Regions from separate parts of the Homo sapiens genome. Here regions 1 and 3 are each linked to region 2. The links are contacts of gene promoters, found by promoter capture Hi-C in human tissues and cell types (Jung and others, 2019). All regions are on one chromosome and are shown on one strand. Each heading gives the region's core, a stretch centred on a gene start or on the middle of the fragment in contact. The rest is flanking DNA. Distances are from core to core; before and after follow the strand shown. Region 1 overlaps CFAP46 (cilia and flagella associated protein 46). Region 2 holds the start of NKX6-2 (NK6 homeobox 2). Region 3 overlaps INPP5A (inositol polyphosphate-5-phosphatase A).

Region 1 (2,700 bases), core at 90-2,589, 47 kb before region 2:
GCCAGGTGCTATGGGGCCCTCGTTGCCGAGCCAGGTGCCCTTGTCCACCATGCTGTTTGCAGAAGGGGCAGGAGCTCGGCCTTTCTGCAGGGGCCTGGCCCTCGCGGGGTCTGGGCCATGCGCCCTGTTTGCTACGGGGGCCTCTTTTTTGGATTGCGGTAGGAACCAGAAGGCCTGCAGGTGGAAGAGAAGGAGCGCCCTGTGCAGAGGCTCAGTAGCGTCCTGGGGCCCCTGGAGGAGCTTCTGCAGCCGCTATTCCCCCTGCTCAGCCTCTCCAAGGCCAGGTACTGGGGATGACGTTGAGGCTGGCACCCCACCACGCTCACGCATGGACACGTGTGTCCAGTGCTGTGGCCAACCACGTGTGCTTGCTGTGCCTTCTCGGCCGCCTTTGTTCAGGACTCGGCGCCGCCTGCCTGCTCCCAGGAAGCAATTCTTCTGGTTCTGCCTCCATTCCTGCCTGGAGGAGTACTGCCCACTGCCCACTGCCCACGGTCCCTCCAGCCCCTGGCCCAAGTGTGGGGTGGGAGGGCAAGCACCTCCAAGGGACCGCCCGGGCTGCTTTGATTTGGGGTGGGAAGGAAGGCAGAGGGGACGGACACCTGGCACCGTTTAGCTTGGCTGGTGGATCAGAGATGATCCCAAAATCCTGTGGCTCATCCCGGCCCCACCTCAGTGGGACCATCCCCAGAAGTGAGCGTGGGGATTCGTGGTGCTGCTGCCTTAGAGTGAAACAGGCTGAGCAGGTGTCGCCTATATTCCAAGCGTTTGTTATCTCTGTTTCTTAAACCCGAATATATAACCTGACTTTCAGAGTGCAGACACCTGCGGTTGTTGCCGATTCAGGGAAGTCGAAGGGCAAAGACAAGGAGAGGAAAACGTCCACAGGACAACACAGTGAGTGGGGCGGGCGTGGCCACTCAGCCTGGGGAGCTCATCCCGCCAGAAGAGGTGGGGTTGGGATCCACCCACCCATCCGGGAACGCCAGGGGGGGTCAGGAACCCAGGAGTCCCACAAGCCCTGCTGCTCCTTCCCCTGAGGCCTCCCTGCGCCTGAGGTCCCCGGAAGGTTCTCTGCACAGCCCTGGACCAGCCCTCTGGGTAGGAGGCTCTGTGCCAAGCCTCCTGAGAGCACCACGGAACCCAGCACAGCCACCTTCGCGTGGGTGGATTGTCAGCCCCGCCACACCACACGTGCTTGCTAACAAAAAGAATCGTGTGGAGGGACAGGCGTGATGGGAGGCTGTTCCTCGCCCCGTTCTGGGGCATCTGGAGGAGGAGGTGGCATGGAGTCAAGGCGGGCTGCCAGCCTTTCCCAGCGCCCAGCAGCCAAGTCAGAAGACGGAGCCCTGCGACCCCGTGGGAGGGGTCCCGTCTTCAGGAGCTGATCTCCCTGCACTGCTGTTTCCCAGGCACAGTCCAGCCTGAGGTTGCCGATAAGATAGTCCTGGTCGCAGACAGACATCTCCTGGAGCTGCCACTGGAAGGTCTCTCTGTGTTCGATGAAGGGACAATTTCCTCTGTGTCACGAGAATTTTCTCTTCAAATGCTGTGGAATCGCCTCCATAAAGAAGAGACAGGTAGGAACTGCCCTCAGCCACCTTAATGTGTAATTTTAAAATGGAAATATTTAAATTATTTTTCAGATGAAACAATGTTAGCTCCTATCAAGAAATAATCATCAAATGTTGCAACATTTTTCTAGGCATTTATTCATTCAAAGATATTTGTAGGATATAAATACTCACCAGCCTGGGCAACATGGTGAGAGTGCATCTCTACAAGAAAGTTTAAAATTAGCTGGGCATGGTGGTGTGCACCTGTGGTCCTGGCTACTCAGGAGGCTGGGAGGTGGGAGGATGGTTTGAGCCTGGGAGACTGAGGCTTTGGGGAGCTGAGATGGCGCCACTGCACTCCAGCCTGGGCAACAGAGTGAGACCCTGTCAAAAATAAAATATATATGTATATATATAAACACTCAAAACTATTTATAAAATACCTGCTATGTGCCAGTATCCTGGTGCTAAACACACAGGGAAGACAAACTTAACGCTGTTCTTGCCCCCACAAATACCTGTTTCAAAGGAGGGGACCAGATGTGTAGTAAACAGCCAGCCTCTCCGTTAATCACTCAGACAGTGAAAAGCACGAGGGAGCGCGCGGAAGGCCCTGACCTCGGCTGGGATTCGGGGGTGATGACATTCTGTGACTGAGTGCTGGCTGTGCAGACGTGCCCCGGTTGTGAAGCTTCCCCGAGCGCTACCCTTGCGGTACGTGCAGTTTTCTGCACTTCGGTATCAAATAAAATTAAAAATAAATCGATTGGACTTTTGCTTCCATCTCAGATGAAGTAACAGGGACCAGATTCGTTCTTCCAGCTGAGACAAATAAAAACCAGAGAAAAGCACATGAAATGAGGGTTTTCAAACATTGACGAGCAGTCCGCGCAGGACGGGGGGCCTCGAAGGGGGTTTGGCTGGCGAGCGCCATGGCCCACCCAGGTCTTACTCTCTGGGGAATTTCCAGGCCACAGCATTGGGGGGGGGGGGCAGGAAGAGCCCAGGGGTCTCCGCAAGTTGAGGACAGACAGTTTGGAGTCTGGGAAACTGACAACTACAACGTGCAGGGCGGGACACCTGGAAGGAGAGAGCTGCAAGGAACGGCCACTCCGAGATCTGCAGAGCCCTCAGCAGGAAGACA
Region 2 (2,700 bases), core at 74-2,573:
ACCTCAGTGGAGCCGGAAGCCGCCGGGGCAGCCCCGAGCGCGCACACACCCGGCGGCCGCACCACTGCCCCGGAGTTTGGCCGCAGGTGGCTTTTCCAAGCCGCCATCCAGGAGCGGCCGACGGCGCCAAGTCCCCGCCTCGACCTGCACAAAACGAAAACGGACGCTGGAGGGGGGCGAGGGGGCGGACGTGAGACCCCGGCCCCGAACCCCGGGCGCCGCCTTCCTCCGCGGCACAGGCCCGAGAGAGGCCACGCAGCGGCGTTCCCTGCGCACAGACTCGGGCTCCCCACGAGCCGTGGGCCACAGCCACAGCCGCCCCGTGTCCCTAAATCAATACGAGACGTCACCACAGACGTCGGAGCGTTTGCTCGCGGCCGCCGTGCGCGGGGCTCGGAGTCATCTCACCGCCCGGTCTGCGGGATGGATGAGCGAGCGGCTCCCGGTGCCGTGGGGGCGGGGGGGACACCGGCCCCCCGCGCGCGTCTAAGGCCGCGTTTCTGCCGCTGCGCCCCCAGCCCGCACCCACGTTCGGGCCCTGGACAGGGCTTCCGCGCTGAGGCCGTCCTGGTCTCTGTTCTCCCGGCCGGGGATTCGCGAGAGGCGGCCCGTGGGCGAAGTCGTGGGCCCAGGTCACATCCTGGGGGACCCCCAGCGGGAGACCTGGAGGCCGATGACGGGGAAGTGCCGAGCCGCGCGTGTGGTCCCGGGACCCGCCTCCCCGCCCCGCTCCCGCCTGCCTCACTCCTCCACCGCGCCGGCCGCGTGTCGGCGAAACCAGAGGCAGCTCCGTGCGAGCCTCGCCCGGCCGTGAGGCCCGTGGATTCCGTGGACTCGAGGCCCGCGTCCTCCGCCCTCCTGTGGCCCCGACCTGCCCGGAGCGCGTTCCCCGCCGGCGTCCGCTGCCGCTCACACCCACCCCAGCCACGGGCGGCGGAGCAGTCGCGACTGGGACGCGGGCCGGGACTCTTCCCCGAGTGGGGCGCTCCGAGCGCGCGGGCGGGTCCTCAAATCTGCATTCTTTCCGTTAATAAAATACGTTCTCGTATTTTTTCCTGATTTCGCATGAAAACCTTTGCCTAACTACACTCCCATCCAAGCTGGATTTATTTCGTCCCCGGGGAGATAAATCGGGGCGAATTTACAGCCCGGGAGGCACCTGCCGCGCTAATGGGCCCTTCATGGAGTGCGCGGCCGGCGGGGGCGCGCGGGCGGGGGGGGGGCGCCGGCCAATGGCCGGACCGCGGGGTCCGCAGCCAATCAGCGCGCGCGCCGCGCCCCGGGGAGCCCCCGTTATCAGCGCGTCCGTCCCGCGCGGCGCCGCTCCGACCGGCCCCGGAGCCGCCGCCGCCGCCGCCCGCCCGCCCGCCCCGCGCCGGAGCCGCCCGCCCGCCCCCCGCGCCCCGCGCCCCGCGCTGCAGCCGACGCCCGCCCGGGCCGCGCGCAAACTTCCCGGGCCGGCGGGCAGGGGCGGCGGCGGCGGGGCCCGGATGGGAGCCCGGGCCGGCGGCGGCGGCGCCCATGGACACTAACCGCCCGGGCGCGTTCGTGCTGAGCAGTGCCCCGCTGGCCGCGCTGCACAACATGGCCGAGATGAAGACGTCGCTGTTCCCCTACGCGCTGCAGGGTCCGGCCGGCTTCAAGGCGCCCGCGCTGGGGGGCCTGGGCGCGCAGCTCCCGCTCGGGACCCCGCACGGCATCAGCGACATCCTGGGCCGGCCCGTGGGCGCGGCGGGCGGGGGCCTCCTGGGGGGGCTGCCCCGGCTCAACGGGCTCGCGTCGTCCGCCGGCGTTTACTTCGGGCCCGCGGCCGCTGTGGCGCGCGGCTACCCCAAGCCCCTGGCCGAGCTGCCGGGGCGCCCGCCCATCTTCTGGCCCGGCGTGGTGCAGGGCGCGCCCTGGAGGGACCCGCGTCTGGCTGGCCCGGGTGAGTGGCCCGCGCGGGGGGTGCGGGGCGGGTGGGCGCGGAGGGGGACCCCGCCGGCCGCTGACCTCCCTCCCTTCCCCTCCCTTGCAGCCCCGGCCGGCGGCGTCCTGGACAAGGACGGGAAGAAGAAGCACTCGCGCCCGACCTTCTCGGGCCAGCAGATCTTCGCGCTGGAGAAAACCTTCGAGCAGACCAAGTACCTGGCGGGCCCGGAGCGCGCGCGTCTCGCCTACTCGCTGGGCATGACCGAGAGCCAGGTGAAGGTGAGCGCGGCGGGGCTCGGGAGAGCAGAGCCGGGGGCCCGCGTCCTGCGAACGGCCCCAGCGCCAGCCCCGGGCCCCGCGGCCGCCTGACCGCCCCGTCCACTCCCAGGTCTGGTTCCAGAACCGCCGGACCAAGTGGCGCAAGCGGCACGCGGTGGAGATGGCGTCGGCCAAGAAGAAGCAGGACTCGGACGCCGAGAAGCTGAAGGTGGGCGGCTCGGACGCGGAGGACGACGACGAATACAACCGGCCCCTGGACCCCAACTCGGACGACGAGAAGATCACGCGGCTGCTCAAGAAGCACAAACCCTCGAACTTGGCGCTGGTCAGCCCGTGCGGCGGCGGCGCGGGGGACGCCTTGTGAGGACCCGCGGGGTGGGGGCGAATCTATTTTTGCAGAATCCGGGGGCGGCCCCGGGTGGGCGCGAGTCGCTTTGTATCATCAATAAATTATTTAACGGGTCCCCGTCGGAGCCGTCGCTCCGGAGCCTGCGCCGCGTGTTTCTTCCG
Region 3 (2,700 bases), core at 200-2,699, 40 kb after region 2:
TGAATGGGAGAAGGCTTGGCAGGCAGACGGCCATTGTAGCCATCCCAGGACGCGGCTCAGGAAATTCACGGCTCTGTCTCCCAAAAGGCATCTGCGGGAAACTGTTTAAAAACTGCTTTATCTCAGCACTTCAGGCAGGCTCCCAAAGGACAAACATCTGATGGACCCCAGAGCCCAGGAAGGGGCCGGCCACCCCAAACCCCTCCCCAGAGCTGCCTCATTCACAGGCTGTAAAGGAGTGATCAGGCCAGGCTGAAGGGGCCAAAGCTGGCCTGTTCCCTTTGCCTTTCAATCCAGCAAAGTCGTGGCCACTCATGCGGAAAGTGGCCAGGCTGGGCCTTTCCGGCTCGCCTACTTTGGGAAGGGATTCTTCTCTTTTGAAAGGAGAAACAAATACCCTAAATGCTATGTTTAAAAAGCCATCTAAGATGTATTTCATTATTAGCAGCCGCAAGGAGAGGCTCTGGAAAGAGTGGTCCGGTGTGCCGTCTTATCCACACTTAGAATTTAACGGGAACGCTGTGTGCCAGGGTCATCCACACGCGTGTGGATCACGAAGTTCCTGCATTTCTTCTTACTGTTTGGATAACCAAGGAGGCATGCTGCCTGGACAGGGCGTCCACAGGCCCAGGGCACAGGTGTCAGCCCAGGAGAAAGGCTGTTTTCTGTGCAAGGAAATAACGCAGTCATTCGGATGTGCACGGAGCTGCATGGCAGGCAGAGTCGCCCCAATGTGCACCTGTGCAGTTGGTCTCACGTTGGGAGCTGAATCTGTCCCATCACCCCCTCAACTGTCCCGGACACTCTGCCACAAAATCCAAAACTCTACTAAAGGCAAACACATCCTCTCAGACCCTGTCAGCCCAAGTTTTTAAATGCAACCTTCAAGAGCTGGTTTATAAAAACAAAAAGTTGTTCTGTACTCTCTGAAATGAATCCTCGCTGGCTGTAGCCTCCAGGCACCGCACGCACAGCCAGCAGGCGCCTGGGCTCCACTCTCTACCTGGAATCACCAGGTGTCCAGAGCGCCCTGCCTGGGCCAAGTGGACACACAGCCTCGGGGGCCCACTCAGGGCTCCGAAGAAGCCATCTGGGCACACGTGCAGGCAACGCCGAGGCCCTACCCCAGGCTTGGCTTCTAGGTCCTGCCAAGGCGTCTCAGGGTAGGCAGGGTAGGCGAGGCTGGGTGGGCAGCATGTGTTGCTCTTGTGGCTGAGCTGGGAGCTCTCACGCACCCGCCTGTTCTCCAGGACACACTCCTCCTCGGGGGCCACCACACCCGGGCCCACCACACCCGAGGCCACCATGGCCGGGCCCACCATGCCCAGGCCCACCATACCCAGGGCCACCACACCCGAGGCCACCACGCCAGAAGCCCACCATGCCCGGGCCCACCATACCCAAGGCCACCACAGCTGAGGCCCACCACGCCCGAAGCCCACCACGCCTGGGCCCACCACACCCGAGGCCACCATGCCTGAAGCCCACCATGCCCAGGGCCACCACACCCGAGGCCACCACGCCCGAGGCCCACCACACCCAGGGTCTGACACACTGTGGGCCCACCACACCCGAGGCCCGGGCTGGGGCCAGTGCCAGCCGTGACATGCCTCACATGAGGAGGAAGGTCCCAGCAGGGCCCAGCACAGATGCTGCCCGGACTCGGGAAGGGAAAGCTGGGATCCCAGGGGTGCAGCTCAGGCACTGGAAAAGCAATCAGGCTCGAAGGCTGGGAGATGCCCCTCCTGCCACACGGAGAGTCCAGTTCCCTGGTTACTCCCTGGTGGTCAACACACTCCCAGGCAGACAAGGGAATCCGTTAGTCACTGGGGCCACAAACCTCCTTCCTAGGGCCAGAGCCTGGCAACAGGGACAGCCCCAGCCCTCACCTTCCCAAAGGGGAGGTGTCCCCAGGAGCATCGTGGCCTCCAGGAGCTCGCGAGGGGATGGAGGACCCCGTCCTCTGTGGCAGGCAGGCAGAACCACCTGCCCCAAGATCAAAGGCTGACAGGCCATAGCGCCCTCCCACCACGTCACCCTGTGTCCCCAGGCCCTCCCAGAACCGCCCAAGCTCGCCTGGAGCAGAGGCAAATGCACCTCTGTGGCCTCCTGAGCCAGCCACTGGCTCGGGCACACCCTGTCCCCAAGCCTGTGCCACGGGAGAGGCGGGCAGCCCGGGCCTCGCAAGCTGCCAGGGGCTGCACCGCCGGGCCCAGGACAGCACTTTCGGGAGGGACAACGGTGCCGTGGTCTGTGGCGGCATGTCTAACATGGCGGCTGCACAAAGTGAGGCTGAGGTTGAATCCTAACCTTCCTCAGTGGATAGAAATCAGTCAGCCCTGCAGGTCGCCTCAGGCTCAGGGACAGCCCGGCCTCATGAAGCCTGGGAATCCCAACAACTTCTTCCTCTCCTTGAGAGCCGTGTCCTCTGTCTCACCTCAATGCAGGGAGTAAAAGGGCGTTCACAGTTAAATAAAATAAAAACGAACCACAAAGCCAACGTTGCCCCCGAATCTAGAAACACCACAGGCAGCTACTAAGGGGCAGATTCTAGTGCGTTCTTAAGGAATGAAACCATCATCAAGGAAATAAGGCTTTTTTCCTCCAAACTGAGACCCCCTAAAGGAGCCGGTATTGAAACTCCCCCATCTGCCCGACACCTACGGGCATATCCCACCATGAACGGGATGTCCGCTGACA

Evidence for each region. Contacts are between HindIII fragments. The study calls those that stand out against the background at their distance.
Region 1: a contact is called between a fragment that was not itself captured here and the fragment with the promoter of NKX6-2 in region 2, in 2 of the 25 tissues and cell types used here (dorsolateral prefrontal cortex and mesendoderm cells).
Region 3: a contact is called between a fragment that was not itself captured here and the fragment with the promoter of NKX6-2 in region 2, in 1 of the 25 tissues and cell types used here (aorta).

The regions. Positions count from the first base shown.
Region 1 is chr10:132,832,238-132,834,937 of GRCh38, reverse strand. It overlaps CFAP46 (cilia and flagella associated protein 46), which reads left to right. Exons shown (of 58, transcript NM_001200049.3): 48 at 163-284; 49 at 815-897; 50 at 1,413-1,580. Among named protein-coding and RNA genes, the nearest start is that of NKX6-2, 47 kb to the right of the region's middle. The HindIII fragment of the contact is 6,011 bases long and covers 1-2,700 here.
Region 2 is chr10:132,784,770-132,787,469 of GRCh38, reverse strand. NKX6-2 (NK6 homeobox 2) reads left to right here and starts at 1,323. Exons shown (of 3, transcript NM_177400.3): 1 at 1,323-1,927; 2 at 2,018-2,190; 3 at 2,300-2,700. The coding sequence starts at 1,522. The coding sequence ends at 2,554. The HindIII fragment of the contact is 14,696 bases long and covers 1-2,700 here.
Region 3 is chr10:132,744,461-132,747,160 of GRCh38, reverse strand. All of the region lies in intron 9 of INPP5A (inositol polyphosphate-5-phosphatase A), which reads right to left. Among named protein-coding and RNA genes, the nearest start is that of NKX6-2, 40 kb to the left of the region's middle. RefSeq lists an enhancer at 915-1,450 and a silencer at 2,367-2,548. The HindIII fragment of the contact is 8,826 bases long and covers 1-2,700 here.